2 separate regions of the Homo sapiens genome follow, and region 1 is linked to region 2. Evidence: promoter capture Hi-C in 16 types of primary human blood cells and fetal thymus (Javierre and others, 2016). All regions are on one chromosome and are shown on one strand. The core of a region is centred on a gene start or on the middle of the fragment in contact, and the rest is flanking DNA. Distances in the headings are between cores, read along the strand shown. Region 1 has its middle 10 kb from the start of KRTAP17-1. Region 2 holds the start of KRT10 (keratin 10).

Evidence for each region. Contacts are between HindIII fragments. The CHiCAGO score rates a contact against its expected background, and 5 or more counts as called.
Region 1: a contact is called between a fragment that was not itself captured here and the fragment with the promoter of KRT10 in region 2, in 2 of 17 cell types (M0 macrophages and M1 macrophages). The highest score is 5.8, in M0 macrophages.

Annotation. Positions count from the first base shown.
Region 1 is chr17:41,324,656-41,327,478 of GRCh38, reverse strand. It overlaps the pseudogene TBC1D3P7. Among named protein-coding and RNA genes, the nearest start is that of KRTAP17-1, 10 kb to the right of the region's middle. The HindIII fragment of the contact is 7,062 bases long and covers 1-2,823 here.
Region 2 is chr17:40,821,033-40,824,108 of GRCh38, reverse strand. It overlaps KRT10 (keratin 10), which reads left to right and starts at 1,495. Exons shown (of 8, transcript NM_000421.5): 1 at 1,495-2,150; 2 at 2,992-3,074. The coding sequence starts at 1,524. The region is part of intron 1 of KRT10-AS1 (KRT10 antisense RNA 1); the gene reads right to left. The HindIII fragment of the contact is 8,212 bases long and covers 1-3,076 here.

The DNA.
Region 1 (2,823 bases), core at 67-2,566, 500 kb before region 2:
ACATCCCCCTCCTGTGTGCACAGCACTGAGTACCAGTACACACGCACTGAGCGCCTGCCCTGAGGACCGGTGGGCCTCCTGCACTTACTTAGCATCCAGGAGGAAGAGGAGGAAGAAAAGATGTAAGAGGAAGGCCCAGGTTTGGGGTCACAGGCACTCCCCCACTATTGACTGCCCCAGAAGGTGACTTGGTGGGGGGACTGGGTATTGGAGCCTTCCTGGGGGTGGCAGGTCCCCATGCTTCCTGGTAGTTTCCTTACAGAGCACAGAGGCCTGAAGGTGCCTAAGAACTGCATCACTGTCCAGGGCCCAGGTTTGGGGGAACTGGTCCTGAAAACGCGCCCACAGGCCAGACCTGGAAGCCTTCATGAGGTGCTCTAGGGACAGGGTGAGGATCAGGCCAGGAAAGTTCCCTGGGAGGCGTCAGAGCCGACACCCCATTGCCACCTCTGTCGTCTCCCACTGGGTGGTGCCGGATCATTTTGTGGCCACAACAGGGGTGCAGATGTGCACAGGAGGCTGTGGTTTGGGGGAGGCCTGGGCAGGGAAGTGCTTGCCACACTCCCGACTTTCATCTGGGTCACGTGCGGGATGGGCTCGGCATCACTGTGCCCTGCCCTGCTCACCAGGCCAGACCTTCTTCTGGGCTGGAGCAGAGAAACATGGGGACAGTGTGAGGAAGCTGCCCTTGGGCCAGTCGGGGTCTGACCCCAGAGCTTCCCAGGCCCCACTGGGCACACGTGGACTTACTCCTCTGAACCTTGAAGGCAGTGCGTGCCATTGGCATCAACACCTGTTCCTTTCTACCAAATACACCCTCCACAGGCTTAGGGTGAGCCCGAGAGAGATCTGTGGGGACACAGGTGTGGGAGGCCCTGGCTCGTCCAGGCTGGAGGCTGGTGGCTGGATCTGGGCCCACTGGGGCTTCAGTCCCCCAGAGTCAGTGACCCTCCCCATGAGGGTCATCTGACCCCTCCAGGAGGCTGGGTCTGGCTTCCCTGAGCCCTCCCAAGTTAGGTCCTGGGTCAGTCTATCCATGAGGCTGGGCCTGAGCCCTGGCCTCTGCTGGGGGATGACCCCTCTTGGGCAGAGGGCCTTGCTTGTGTGTCCTACAGGGACCTGCCTGAGCCTCCTGTGGGCTGGGGGTGAGCCAGACCCCTGGGCTGGGGAAGTAGAGCACTGCAGGGCAAGGAGGGTCCCTGAGCCACGGTCTCCCTGTGCCTCCTTATCCCATTGATCACCCTCTGTAGAAGCCAAGCTAATGAGGAACCTTGAGCACATAGCCCTTCCGTGTCCCGACAGGAGGAACAGAGGTGCTCAGGGCCCCCTAGCCTGCCCTAAAAACCTCCTTCTTCTAGGGCCCTCTGAAGACCCTTCCCCAAGTGCAGAGTACTGGGTGGTGTCCAGGGCTCCCCACAACACCTTCCCCCTTCCTGCATTCCCAGTGGACACACTGCCCTCAGCCCTGCTCTGCAGGAGCTGGGCCCCTGTCCCTGTGCCTCTGTCTCCTCCAGGGCAGGAAAGGAAACCCAACTCCCAGTACATGGAGAACCCCACGTCCCAGGTCAGGCCCTGGCTGGGACTCAGCCTCTCACCAGCCCCACGAGGGGCTCCAGCACCCCCGACTCCTCTGGCCCCATGGGATGCTGGGCCTCTAGGGAAGAGTCGAGGGGACCATAAACTCACCAAGTGCCTCATGGTCTTGGGGTGTGACGTGGGTACCACATGCTCCTGGTGGTCTTGGAGCCCCTGGACCCCTGTGCCATTTGGGCTGTGGAATCCTGAGAAGCCTCCAGCCCATCATGAAATCAGAGCCTGTTCCCAAGATGTGGAACTGTCGGCTGGAATTGCTGGGCAGCTGCAAAGGCCCATGAACACCGGGCCTCCCACCCTCCCACCTGGTGACCCCACCATGCGGCCTTGGCCCTGGGGAAGAGGGATGGGAACATCCTCTGGAGCCTGGCCGGAGGTGCTCCTGGAGGCCTCCTGGGCCCGGGTGCTAGGAAGGCAAGGCTGACTTTGAGGCCATGACAGAGGGCGGGAAGAACTGGGTGGGTGCTGGGTTTCGTGGTCGTCTCCTGGAAGTGGGGTCGGGCCAGGGTACATGGGAAGGGGAGATGCTGCCATCTGGGCTTCATCGACCCATCTGTGGGCACCAAGGGCAGCTGGAGCCTGGCCAGCAGGAGGGCAGGAGGACTCTCACGGAGGGGACAGTCAGTTGCACAGAATCAGAGCCAGAGGGTGTGGCTCCAGGCCACAGAGGGCAGCCACGGGGGGATAAGATGTCCTCTGTTGATGGAGATAAAAGGCGTCTCATTTGGGGCCTGGGGGTACCTGTGTAGCCCTGGGGGTATCCGTTCAGTCCTGGGCTTCTGTGGGGCCCTCAGCAGAGACATTCTAAAGGCTCCAGATAAGTTGGCGACACAGGAAGGTGCCTTCACTAAAAGTGGAGGTCACCTGGCCAGGGTGGCTGAGAAAAATCAGCCCGAGACGGGACAGGTGCCACCCAGGGTGGGTAGCCGGGCCCTGACAGGAGTCCCTCAGGGAGTGACCACATCACCCTGCTGAGGTTTAGGGATCCTGGCCTGAGACTTGCCTGGTGTACCCAGGGTGCATCCAGGGCCCATCCCACCCGACATTCCCAAGCCCTCACAGGGTCTGACCTCCCGGCATCCACCTGCCTCTCCCTGCACTCCAGCCACCCACCCTGCTTGTTCCCCAATTTCTGCCATCCTGTCAACCCAGAGATGGTGAATGTTTCCCCAGCCACCCTGGCCCTTCTTTGATCCTTGTCCTGTCAGAACCCCCGAGTGATACTCCCCA
Region 2 (3,076 bases), core at 246-2,745:
AGGTCAGGAGATTGAGACCATCCTGGCTAACATGATGAAACCCTGTCTCTACCAAAAAGACAAAAAATTAGCCAGGTATGGTGGCACACACCTGTAGCCCCAGCTACTCGGGAGGCTGAGGCAGGAGAATGGCGTGAACCCGGGAGGTGGAGCTTGCAGTGAGCCGAGATGGCGCCACTGCACTCCAGCCTGGGCGACAGAGCAAGCCTCCGTCTAAAAAAAAAAAAAGAAAGAAAGAAAGAAAGAAAGAAAAGAAATAATAATAACCACCATTCCTATCTCAACAGCTTGTTCTAGAAATTTTTAAAGCACAGTATCACAAACAGCACTACATAATTGTAAAACATGTATGAATATATACATCCAAACAACAGCAATGTCATAGCCTATGGGTAGATATAATCTTATACAATGTACCAAAATCCCAATTTACTTCACTAGACAAACTGTTATACCAAATTCTGTACACAGTATATCCAAGAAAATGTGTTGTTTTTATTGAGAAACTGAACCTAGCTTGGGAACACATGTGCACAGTCTAGTTCATAATATTTGGTGCAAGTATCATTCTCTAATATAGATTTACATTTTTGCAAGCAAATTTTTACTTGCAATCATAACATATCCAAATTTTCCCTTTTTACTCAATCAGAACTTAGTGTAAAGTACTACAAGTTAGTTCTTCGGATTTCATGCTAAGAAAATAATGCAGATTTTCTGCATTATTATGGTCTTCACAGAAACCTTAACTATGATGAATTTAAAAGTGCAAAATAATCCAGGATAACTTTATGATTTCAGATTTTTTAATGTTAAAAATAATGCCATCATTAATTAGAAAATTCTAAAATCATTACTTCCACTTTCTTAGGCAAAATATCAATATACTCTCATTTGCCAAATAAATTAAAAGATCTCCTACAAACACAATCTCCTAAATTGTGGTTTTATGGCTTTAATGTTTTATGTGTGGCAACTATTGATGCTAGTTAAATTTTTAGAAACTTTTTCTTTTTGATTCCCTACAGTTGTCTACAAGAACCTTATTGTAGCATGATCCTGCCAGACTTTATGCTATTTGTTGCTCCAATTAAAACTGTTTAAAACATGAATTTGAAAAATCTTATTTTAACTATAATTTTGTAGCTGAAACTTTTTTTTCTAAACTTTGCAAACATTCTATGCAACCTGAATTAGTGCTGAGAAAAATGGATCTTAACGGTTGCTCAATGTTCTTCAACAGGTGAAAAGCATAATAAAACATGCTCATCTGAACTCCACCCATTTTCAATTTCAACATAGCAAACCTCCTGTTTATTCTTAGGGCAAATTCAAAATTGTACATATTAGGATTGGTTATTACTGAAGATAATTTATGCAATCATAAGCCAAAGATGCTAAGTTGGCAAAAAGAAAACAATGTAAGTAAGCAAACTCTAACACATGTGGACACACCCTCTCAGTATATAAAGGCTTGTCACTGTCCTTGGTAGCAGGCACTCCCTGGGCTAAACAGCATCACCATGTCTGTTCGATACAGCTCAAGCAAGCACTACTCTTCCTCCCGCAGTGGAGGAGGAGGAGGAGGAGGAGGATGTGGAGGAGGAGGAGGAGTGTCATCCCTAAGAATTTCTAGCAGCAAAGGCTCCCTTGGTGGAGGATTTAGCTCAGGGGGGTTCAGTGGTGGCTCTTTTAGCCGTGGGAGCTCTGGTGGGGGCTGCTTTGGGGGCTCATCAGGTGGCTATGGAGGATTAGGAGGTTTTGGTGGAGGTAGCTTTCGTGGAAGCTATGGAAGTAGCAGCTTTGGTGGGAGTTATGGAGGCATCTTTGGAGGGGGCAGTTTCGGAGGTGGCAGCTTTGGTGGGGGCAGCTTTGGTGGAGGCGGCTTTGGTGGAGGCGGCTTTGGAGGAGGCTTTGGTGGTGGATTTGGAGGAGATGGTGGCCTTCTCTCTGGAAATGAAAAAGTAACCATGCAGAATCTGAATGACCGCCTGGCTTCCTACTTGGACAAAGTTCGGGCTCTGGAAGAATCAAACTATGAGCTGGAAGGCAAAATCAAGGAGTGGTATGAAAAGCATGGCAACTCACATCAGGGGGAGCCTCGTGACTACAGCAAATACTACAAAACCATCGATGACCTTAAAAATCAGGTAAGAGGTATTTTTAAATCCAGCTTTAAGTATCTTGTCCATGTAATCCAGACAGATGAATCTTAAATTAAGCACAATGTGGCTGTTCACTATGCTTACCCATGTTACTTTCTTCCTTCAAAAATAACCCAGTCTCATCAAAGATAAACATCTGTGAAACTATGGTCATGGCAATCTTCATCCAGCAAGTGTGCTACTTGTCTTAAGAGGATGGGAGATTTACTAAGCACTTTTGAGGTTTTAATGAGCATACAATGAGTCCACAGTTAAAATATGCTAGGCTATTTACAAATGTAGAAACTGAAAAAAAAAATCATGATATGAATCAGAACAAAATGTTATTCAGACTGATAACAAGCCATATTCAGTACCAACATGGCAAGAAAAATAAATTTTCCAGTATGAAAATGGGACACTGCTTGCCTCTAAGGAATTTCTGAATTGTACCTATTGTGTACCAGTTCAGAGTGTATTTATTTATTAGTATTTATCATGAGTTAAACAAATGCAGGTGTGAGTCAGCCAAAGCATGGCTGAAATACATGGAAATCACATAGTCTAAAAGAGGAGGGCACACTTACAGGAATACATCTATATAATTCCAGTTAGTTTTCAGAAAGGAATAATTCGTGTACAGAAATACAAGACTGGAGAAATTCCAAGAGAACAAATAATTCAAAGTTAAGTATATGGGTAAGCCTGCAATATTTCATATTTAAAATAAAAAATTTTCCCAAGATTTTGTAAGAGAACAACATAAAAGTGCAGAGTGCATCTATGTCACTACAAAAGCCATATCTGCATCTGACCTCTTCTCAAATAACTGTGCCTCTCCCTCCAGATTCTCAACCTAACAACTGATAATGCCAACATCCTGCTTCAGATCGACAATGCCAGGCTGGCAGCTGATGACTTCAGGCTGAAGT